Regions from separate parts of the Homo sapiens genome. Here region 2 is linked to region 1. The links are contacts of gene promoters, found by promoter capture Hi-C in human tissues and cell types (Jung and others, 2019). All regions are on one chromosome and are shown on one strand. Each heading gives the region's core, a stretch centred on a gene start or on the middle of the fragment in contact. The rest is flanking DNA. Distances are from core to core; before and after follow the strand shown.

Evidence for each region. Contacts are between HindIII fragments. The study calls those that stand out against the background at their distance.
Region 2: the fragment with the promoter of GPR89B here is called in contact with a fragment that was not itself captured in region 1 in 5 of the 25 tissues and cell types used here (dorsolateral prefrontal cortex, liver, lymphoblastoid cells and 2 more).

The regions. Positions count from the first base shown.
Region 1 is chr1:147,661,443-147,666,761 of GRCh38, forward strand. All of the region lies in intron 1 of ACP6 (acid phosphatase 6, lysophosphatidic), which reads right to left. Among named protein-coding and RNA genes, the nearest start is that of ACP6, 6.4 kb to the right of the region's middle. The HindIII fragment of the contact is 6,095 bases long and covers 1-4,831 here.
Region 2 is chr1:147,927,170-147,932,448 of GRCh38, forward strand. GPR89B (G protein-coupled receptor 89B) reads left to right here and starts at 1,251. Exons shown (of 14, transcript NM_016334.5): 1 at 1,251-1,409. The coding sequence starts at 1,368. LOC105371229 (a long non-coding RNA gene) reads right to left here and starts at 1,149. Exons shown (of 3, transcript XR_922074.4): 1 at 1-1,149. The HindIII fragment of the contact is 5,422 bases long and covers 1-2,759 here.

The DNA of each region.
Region 1 (5,319 bases), core at 534-3,033:
TAATCAATAAATGTTGTGTGTTTTCTGAGTGCTCTGCTGACTGGTATTTCCCCCATCTCTCTCCCTCTCCTTGAGCCTCCTTATTTCCTGAGACACAACAATATTAAAATTAGTCCAGTTAATAACCCTACAATGGCCTCTAAGTGTTAAGTGAAAGGAAAAGTTTCAAGTTTCTCACTTTAAATCCAAAGCTAGAAATGATTAAGCTTAGTAAGGAAGGCATGTAGAAAGCTAAGATAAGCCAAAACCTATGCCTCTTGCACCAAACAGCCAAGTTATGAATGCAAAGGAAAAGTTCTTGGAGGAAATTAAAAGTACTACTCTGGTGAACACACAAACAATGAGAAAGTGAAACAACCTTATTGATAACATGGAGATATTCAATGCAGAAGAAACAGCCTATATAGGAAGAAGATCCCAGCTAAGACTTTCATAGCTAGAGAGAAAGTCAATGCCTGGCTTCAAAGCTTCAAAGGACAGGCTGATTCTCATTAGGGATTAATGCAGCTGGTTTCCTTAAGGTGAAGCCAAGGCTCATTTACTATTCTGCAAATCCTACAGCCCTTAAGAATTATGCTAAATGTACTCTGACTGTGCTGTATAAATGGAACAACAAAGCCTGCATGGCAGGACATCTGTTTACAGCATGGTCTACTTAATATTTTAAGCCCACTGTTGAGACCTACTGCTCAAAAGAAAAAATTGATTCCTTTCCAAATATTACTGCTCATTGACAATGCACCTAGTCACCCAAAGGCGCTAATGGAGATGTACAAAATTAATATTGTTTTTGTGCCTGCTAACACAATGTCCTTTCTGCAGCCCATGGCCCAAGGAGTAATTTTGACTTTCAAGTCTTTATTATTTAAGAAATACATTTTGTAAGGCTATTGTTGCCCTAGATAGTGATTCCTCTGATGAATCTGGGCAAAGTAAATTGAAAACCTTATGGAAAGAATTCACCATTCTAGATGTCATTAAGAACATTTATAAGGAGGAGGTCAAAATAGCAACATTAAGCGAAGTTTGGAAGATTTGACTCCAACCCTCATGGATGACTTTGAAGATTCAGGCTTCCGTGGAAGAAGTAACTGCAGATGTGATGGAAATAGCAAGAGAACTAGAATTAGATGTGGAACCTTAAGTTCTGACTGAATTGCTGCAATCTCATGATAAAACTTGAATGCATGAGAAGTTACTACAAAGAAGTGGTTCCTTGAGAGGGAATCTAGTCCTGGTGAAGATAGTGTGAACACTGTTGAAATTACAACAATGGATTTATTACATAAACTTAATTGATAAAGCAGTGGCAGAGTTTGAGAAGATTGACTCCAATTTCAAAAGATGTTCTATTGTGGGTAAAATGCTATTAAACTGTGTCATAAGCTACAGAGAAATCTTTCATGAAAGGAAGAGTCTATCAATGTGGCAAACTTTACTGTTGTCTTATTTTTAGAAATTGCCACAGCCACCCCAACCTTTAGCAACTACTACCCTGATCAGTCAGCAGCCATCAACATCAAGGCAAGACCCTCCACTGGCAAAAAGATCATGACTCACTGAAGGCTCAGGTAATCACTAGCACTTTTTAGGAATAAAACATTTTTAAATTAAGGTATGTACATTTTTAGACATGCTATTGCATGATAGGATACAGAAGAGTGTAAACACAACTTTTATATGCACTGGGAAACAAAAAACAACTGTGGGTCTCACTTTATTGCGATATTTGCTTTATTGTGGTGGTCTAGACCTGAATCTGCAATATCTTCAAGGTATGCTTGTCTGTGTAGAATCTAAAGAAGTCAAAGTCACAGAATTAGAGAGTAGAGTGATGGTTATCAGAGGTGGGGGGGTGCAGTAAATGGGGAAAGAGAGATTTTTATCAATGGGTACAAAATTTCAGTTACACAGGAAGAATAAGCTTTAGTGATCTATTGTACAGGATGGTGACTACAATAAATAATAATGCATTGTATGTTTCAAAATCACCTAATTAATCTTGCTAAGCCAGTGTCATCATATCAGTAACTTTTTCCTAATGTCTCAGAGGAAAGCATCTGTCCTTCAAGAACTTCTACATCGTGGCTGAGTGCAGTGGCTCATACCTGTAATCCTAGCACTTTGGGAGGCTGAGGTGGGAGCATCACTTGAGGCCAGGAGTTCAAGATCAGCCTGGGCAACACAGCAAGACCCCATCTCTTAAAAAAATTTTAAAAAAGGACTTCTACCCCCTTTGTCCAGCCCCTGTACTCAGCTTCACTGCCTCTTTCCTCCCCTCCAACCTAGAACCTGCCCACTGTTTCTGCATCTTCTTCCAGCTTGCTTCTCTTGCTTGGAGGGACTCCTGTTCCTATCTGCCCATCACCTTGTCTTCAATGTTCAAGGATAGCTCAAGTCTTACTTCCCTATCACTGACCACTCTGGCTTTTGATGGTTATCTTTTAAATCTGAATTCCTATAACATTGATAACAAAAAAAATTTAACTCAATTTCCTACTACTTTGTTTAGTTTTAAAACTAACATTTGGAAACCTACTATGTCACATATCGTCATATTTATCTTCTACCCTCCCCGAACTATCCCAGGAGAATGGTACTGGGAGCCTCAGATTCTCTTGGCATCTAGGGAGCCCTCCATTCTTCCCAAAGGCATGTGTCAGTCCCACTGGCACCTGGTCTCCAACACCTGAACCTCCTTCTGACACATCAGAGGACCAGGTGTTCACAGAGAGGCCTTCTTCCTTCTTTCACAGTTAATCACTGCTCCCTCTTTCTGACCCTCTAACCCCTCTGGATAAAAAAAACCCTTCGAGGGTTCATGGCTCATGTGGCCCCACCTCCTCTCTAGCAGCCCCCTTACCACTTCTTCCCTATTCTACATACTTACTCACTAGCCACGCAACTTCCTTTCCTTTCTCATATTTCATGGCCTTTCAGTATCATGTTTCTTATGCCTGGAATTTTCTCTCCTCATTCATTTAGAAAGACTTTTGTTCATTCCTTAAGACTTAGCTTAAGTGTTCCCAGAAACCTTGGTCATGGCCTTATGCTTTCACAGTAGCTTCAGTGGCTCTCTTTAGTAGCCTTTACCAAAGTGTATTAAACGAGCTCCTTTACTGGTCTGTCCTGGCTTCCTGAGAACAGAGACTCGGTCATCTATTGACTTCTGTTTCCCAGCAAAGGGCCTCACACACAGTAGGTACAATTAATAGCTCCAACAATTTGCCAGCTCCTGTGGAAGATACCCATCTTGAGAAAACTTGACCCTGCCTTTCCTGGGTGTTCAAGTTAGTAAAGAAAAAAGGCCAGCTGTGAATGTAAATGACAGCAATACCATAATAGAAGCTGACATGTGCTGCAAGAAACCATATGAAGGCCATAGCAGTTCAAAGGCAAGACAGACCTTCTCTTCTGGCTGGGGATTCAGGAGAAGTTTCATTGAGGGAATAGCATTTTAAATGAATAGTATTTAGACAAGCAAATACCTGTACTTATAAAGGGTGACATTCAGAATTCCAAAAATAACTAGAAAGCTTGCGCAAAGCAGAGATGGTAAAGAATGTGTATGGCAAAGAAGTGGTTTGGTTTGCCTCAACCTGGGAATGGTTTTCCAATTTTTAAATCAGAAAATACCACATAAAGTTTAACTTTAGATTTGTATGTATAAAGGCAAAAACTCGAATTTCTCTAGTTGAAGTAGGAGGGAATCCCACAGCCCCAGCCGCTCAACATCCTCTTAGCCCACAGGCTCCACAGAATAAATCTGAAACCTGGCAGCATACATCACAATTGGAATGGGAAGACTAGATGCAGAAAAGCCCATTTTGAGATGTTAGCAATAGTCCACATGAGAGCCTAAGGCCTCATCTAAGCCAGTTAACAATAGAGGAGGTAGATGTAAGACATTTGAGTTAGACTTGGCAAGTGAGTAAATAAAAGCTTTATGTGGGGACTGTGTTGGTAGGTAAACACAGAAGAACAAAAAAGAGACTACTTTGATTTTTGAGCCTTGTAATGGAGATATTCCTTGACTAAAACTAAGACCAAGACAGAAAAACAGGTGGAAAGCTGATTTCAGTTTTGGACATTTGGAGACACCTCCTTTGTGTTCCCAGTGCTCCCAGCATATTGCCTTAATTGATATCTGTTGTCTCTGCTTTATCACATTGAAACTCCTTTAAAGGCAAGACTGAATTATCCATCCTTGTAGTTCCAGTGTCCACCACAGGGCCTGACACAAAGCTCCACAGGGCCATTCAGCCTCACTAAGAAATCTGTTAGGCACATTCACCAAGAGAGGACCCTTGGCGTCTCCTAGGAGTCTGGAGTCCAGGTCACGTCAAGTCTAAAGTACAGTTTTCAGATTTTCAAGAATGGATGATACATCAGTTTCATATAATAGTGTCCACCCCACATACACACTCTCATTCTCATTCCTGCTCTTAAGCTTCCCAGTTAGTGGCAAAGACTAACTTGATAATTTTACTTATTTTGTGTATACCCCTCTTCAAGGGGTAATAAAGTAGATATAGCAAAAATTAAAATATAGTAAGACAACCAATTCAAAGTAGGCAAGAAAGACAAAAGCAAACAAATGTAGGGACAAAGAAATGGATGCAGTAACACGGTTACTAAAATATGTACACCATGAAGATCTGTTTACTTACTATAGGTGGGCCACAGACTTGGCACCCAGCTTCCTGACTTTTACATAAAGAAACAAACTTGATCAGCTAGACTAGTTTAAAGAAAAAAGCAAGCCAATTGTTCAGGAGAAGCACACCATTCCTAATGCTAACAGACAAATTCCTCCCAAGGGTCCTCATAAAGAGGATAGAGTAATATAATGAACATCTTTTCAGCAGTCACAGCAATGAGTTCTGTGGGATTGTTTCTCCTAGTTCTCTCAACACAGAAAGATAACCTCTTACCAAAGCACATTTCAGCGAAGGCAATTCTGTACTGGGATTGATATACTACATTCCAGGTAAAAGAACAAATCTACATAAAAGTAAACAAAAACCTCCCAGGTGTAGATTTTAAAATAAAGCAATCATATTAAACCTTGTCTGTATACTGGTATTACCAGGACATTTTTTAAAAGTTACTGATGCCTGAGTCCCAACCTGGGATAACCGCATTTGGATTATCCCCCAAAAAAGTGGGGCCTCCACTTTTTTAATGCTCTTCAGTCCAGATAATTCTCAAGCTTCACCAGAGAGTCTTTTACATTATCTGGATACCCCGGACCAATTAAATTAGAATCCTTCGGAGGGAGACCCTGGCATGTGTATTTTTTAAAGCTTTCCAGTTGAC
Region 2 (5,279 bases), core at 1-2,500, 270 kb after region 1:
GGCTGGAGCCAGTTTGCAGGACTATGAGACTATATAGACTACAAAGCCTAGCTAGGCCCCAGGTCGGCGGCAGAGTAAGCCCCACAGCAATGCGTTAAGCCTTCATGAAATGAGTGTTGAATGAATGAGGTAGTGATTCAGTGTATATTTGATCCACTGCAACAGGTGGGAAGGGGGCAGAGGCAGCTACTTCCTAAAATAACCCTTCTTCAGACTCTTAAAGAACTGATCCTTGTTTTGAATTAAAATCTATCTTCAATTAACTTCCAGTCCTTTGCCCTACAGATAATTCGTAGTGCCACATCAGTTCTACCCATTCTTTCACATGAAGACAGATGTCATGTTCTGAGTCATCTTTCTTCGCCTCCTTCCAGCAGCCCTTATCTGGTGGCTCACATTTGAGCGAGCTCCAATATGTCTCTGTAGAATCTCTCTCTTCTTTTTTCTTTTCTTTTTTTTTTTTTGAGATGGAGTTTCGCTCTTGTTGCCCAGGCTGGAGTGCAATGGCGCGATCTCGGCTCACCGCAACCTCCCCTCCCGGGTTCAAGCGATTCTCCTGCCTCAGCCTCCCTAGTAGTTGGGATTACAGGCATGCACCACCACGCCCGGCTAATTTTGTATTTTTAGTAGAGACAGGGTTTCTCCATGCTTGTCAGGCTGGTTTTGAACTTGCGACCTCAGGTGATCCGCCCGCCTTGGTCTCCCCAGGTGCTGGGATTACAGGTGTGAGCCGGCCCGGCCTGTAAAATCTCTTCAAAGTGTGGTACATGGAGTGCAGTACTCCACCTGTGGCCTGACTGATATGCAGTACAATATTATCACTAAATTGCTACAGACAGTGTGCTTTTCATTGTTGTCACAGAAATGTATTTGGTTAGTTATATTTGTTCATATCTCATCTGACTTTCCAGTCTTCCCTCACTTTGTACAGTCATATTTGCCGAGTCAAGTAAAAGTTATAACATTTAGGACACAATGCCCGACTTACTATAATTACCATTATTATCTTAGGATCATTACAAAACAGAATTACCACTTAGCTCTCAGGCCCTACCTCCTTCAGCCTCAGAAACGTTAACGCTACCTTGCATTGCTGCTTTTAGCACCGCCCCTAATAAGCCCCGCCCCTGGGGCTTCCGCGGCGGAAGCCTAGCGTCCGCCCCACCCACCCCGAGCCCGAGGCGGGGCTGTGGATGTAGCCGCTGATTGGCTGACTGGGGCGCAGCTTGACGGCGTCGGGCTGGAGAGCCGCAGTCCCGGCTGCAGCACCTGGGAGAAGGCAGACCGTGTGAGGGGGCCTGTGGCCCCAGCGTGCTGTGGCCTCCGGGAGTGGGAAGTGGAGGCAGGAGCCTTCCTTACACTTCGCCATGAGTTTCCTGATCGACTCCAGCATCATGATTACCTCCCAGGTGAGTCACCGCCTCCCGCCCCGACACCCGTCCGCCTCCCTTCACCGAATCGCCCTCTCCGGTCCTCCGCGGTGCGGGCTGGTCCGGGGTCTCGCTCCTCTCTTACGCGGCCTGCGCCAGTCACTCTGGCACACAGAGAGGGTGTGCGATTTGCTGCGGCCGGTTCCCTCAGCCCCGGCTGTCAGGAGGCTGGCCTGCGGCCGTCCGCGTCCCCACCCGGCATCCATCCCCGGAATTTCGGTCCACTTTTGGAAGCGGTCCGCCGACCTCCAGGCTAAGAGCCGGCGCCGCCAGCTAAGGCGGCGGTTCTAGGAGCTCCTCGAAGCTTCCGGGCTGCGCCAACTGATCCTGGACTGGGGAAGCCTGTGTGGTTCTGGGCGCGCGGTGTGCGACGCGCCAATACTGGATACTGAGGACACGTCAGTGCAGGCTTTGCTGTTAGATGTCAAATCCTGAATCCGGGTGTGGAGAAATTTGCTGCTTCAAAGTATCAGTATAAGGTAATACCTATGCTTGAAAGTATAAGGTTTCGTTTTTGCACTGACACCTCGTCCTTTATCCTCTGCTTAGTTACCCACCTTTTCCGGATGTTTTTCTGACCCTCATTTCTTCTCCATTGGCCACCTTCATTTGTTTGTACAGTCAACAAACATTTATCGACCATTATATAAAGCTCTGAGCGTAAAAACATGTAAGACACTGTCTCTGCTCAATAGAAGTTTCGTCTAGTTAGCCTCTTGCTTTTACCATGTAATCTATTGTTAATTATTGTTTCTTCCTAGCATTCATCATAGCACTGGCATCATTTATGTCTGTGTTTCTGATTTTGTTTTTTGAGATCCTGCCTTGTTCATAGCTGTATCCCCACTTCCAAATGCAGGCATTCAATAAATAATTGTTGGCCAATATTTGTGAAGCTCAGACTGCCTGTTGACCTTCTTCCCCTCATCTTTCCAATAAAGATTTTGTGTGTGTGTGTTTGTTTTTGCTTGTTCTTTCTCTCAAACGGCAAATAACAGAAACAGTTACCTTTGGGGGCTTAAAGTGAACTAAATTTGTGTTCTTTGATTCAGTTTTTGTATTGCTTCATCCTAATACTCGTCTCCGTAGAGCGGAGCATTGTCCTTTTCTCTTCAAAAACTTGTTTACAATATTTAAGAAAATAAGAAAGAAGGAAAAGCCATCCATAATCCTACCGCTCTAATGCAATAGTTTTTCATTTTTAAAATTTACCACCTTTTCTATAGTTTTCATAAGTATTGTTTTTATTGGCTGCATAGTATTCAAATGTATTAATGTAAAAAAACCTAGACATGTAACTCTTCTGCTTAAAACCTTTCTAAGACTACCCAGTGCCCTTGGTGACAACTCAGGATTATTTTTAGCCTTAGTACCAATTTAAGAAAAATAACAATATTTAATTAGCTTTTCTTTTCACTTAGAATAAAGATAAGAATGTCAGTAGAAAATTGGCTTTGCATTGCAGCCTCTACGATTTTTAGCATGGATATAATTGATACGTTGAACCAAGGAAGTGGCTTTCTAATTTTGTATGCCTTATAATCATAGACTTTCACTTCACACATGTATCCATATGCAGTAATTAATTGTTAAACCTGGTTTTTACAAATGTGGAAGAAAGACCCAAAGATTCCTTTGCATGGAATGTTCTCTGTTCAGATATTTATGTGGCTACTTTATCATCCTTTCGGTATTAATAAAAATGTCGCTTTAGGAAGGTTTTACCTGACACCCTGCCCACAACCAAAGTAGCTTTCCATTTCGGCTGCCTTCTTCCTCATTTCCATGTTTTATTATCTTCTTGGCATTTATTACTATGGTTCATTTGTATATTCATGTGTTTGTTATCTGTCCATGAAGTCCAAGATACTGTCTGTCTTGTTCTCTCCTGTATTCACCAGCATCTAGATCAGTTGCAGGCACATAGTAGAGTTGTAGTGAATATTTGTTTAATAAAAAGCACCTCTCTAGAGAGGTGTGGTTACCTTGGAAACACCACCATTGCCCCCTGCGCCCCTCCCTGCTCATTTTTTCTGTTTTGTATTAACTGAAAGGTTTATTTGAAATGAAATCTGAAATCAGAGGTCACGTATTGAATCTTGCTCACCACGGCACAGGATGAAGTTCAAACTCCTTTACATGGCTTTTCAGGTCCCTTATTGATGGGACCCTGGCTCTTCTCTCTTCAGCTGTGGCTCCAATTTATTCTTTAGACTTCCTGAACTTCTTTTAGTTCCCTAACCTGGCCATGCTATGGTGCCTCCAGATTTCCACACAGTGTGTTTTCTCTTTCTGGGCCTTTTCCTCATATCCCTCCCCTTTAAGCCTTCAGATCTCAAGTTGAACACCCAAGAAGCTTCCCCTAGACTGGACTAGATGTCCCTATACCTACTGCCATAGTACCCTTCACCTACTTCCCCTGTAACAACACTACCACATTGTTTTGTAATTACTTGTTTATCTCCTCCATAGATTATAAACTCCTTGAGAGTAGCATTCATGCTCTCATTTGCCATTCTATCCCTTGGACCTGGCACATATTAGGCACTAATAAATATTTGTTAAATGATTAAAAGGGTGAATAAATGATCCAAGAAAGGTGTCTTTTATAGTTAATTCTTTAATAACTGTCCTGCTGATGGCCATCTTTTTTTTTTTAACAGTAGCTAATTTTCAACCCAGAAGTCACTTTTTAAAAAGCAACTGTTAACTAACTCATGTTTTAAGCCCTCTATACCGTCATAAGACTTATCAGTTCCAGAGTACACTCTTAAGTCCTAAGGTCAAGACTCTGTACAATTCTGAAAGTATTAAGTCTCATTTTTAATAAGAAGCTATACGCCTTCCATTTTATTTGCAAAGCTATTTGAAATTGCATTTTGCTTCTGCTTTCTTTTTGGATCCTCTATAATCTTGCCAGAATTTGTGTTTACTTGGATGTAAATGAATTCTCCAGCTACTTGTGTGTGTGTGTGTAGTTTAAGTCTTTTTTTTTTTTCAACTTTTATTTTATTTTAGATTTGGTACTTGTGCTGGGTATATTGTGGGAGCTGAGGTTTGGGGTACAAATGATCCGGTCACCCAGGTACTGAGCGTAGTACTCAATAATTAGTTTTTCAACCCTTCCCCCTTCTCCCCTCCCCTGCCCCCAAGTAGTCTCCAGTTTCTGTTTTTGCCATCTTTATGTTGGTGAGTACCCAATATTTAGCTCCCACTTAGAAGTGAGAACATGTGGTATTTGGTTTTCTGTTCTTGGGTTAATTTGCTTAGGATGATGGCCTCTAGCTGCATCTGTGTTGCTGCAAAGGACATAATTTTGTTCTGAAAGTCTTTTTAAGCTTTCTTTGTCAATGTGAAAGGAGGCCACAATGAAATATTAAAGGTATATATCTGTTTCTCTTTTCTTCCATTCCCCTCCCCACCATATAAACTTAAAATTTTTGCTTGTTTTCTCTTCCATTTCATAGCAATCTTGGTGATTTTTTTTTTTAATCATCCATTTCCACTATACATACCACCATCAGTCCTAAACTGCCCAACTTCTCTGTCTTCAGTCGTGGCTTCATAAGTCATATAAATATGGTCTCTAAACTCTGAATTTACATCTGTCTCCACCGGTAAATATTTATAATAGCCAAAGGATATCCTGGACATTTTCTCCTAATCTGTTTGACCCTTTCCTTTTCTGCTTGATCTAGATGCTTGGATCCAACTTACTTTCTTAAACCCTCTTGTTCGTTTACCTTCATGTATATGTAAGTCCACACTTGGATCACTGCTATAGTTTGTTTACTACTAATACAGAGGCCTGAAGGCTACTATAGAAAATCACATAGCTGTGTAGTTTGC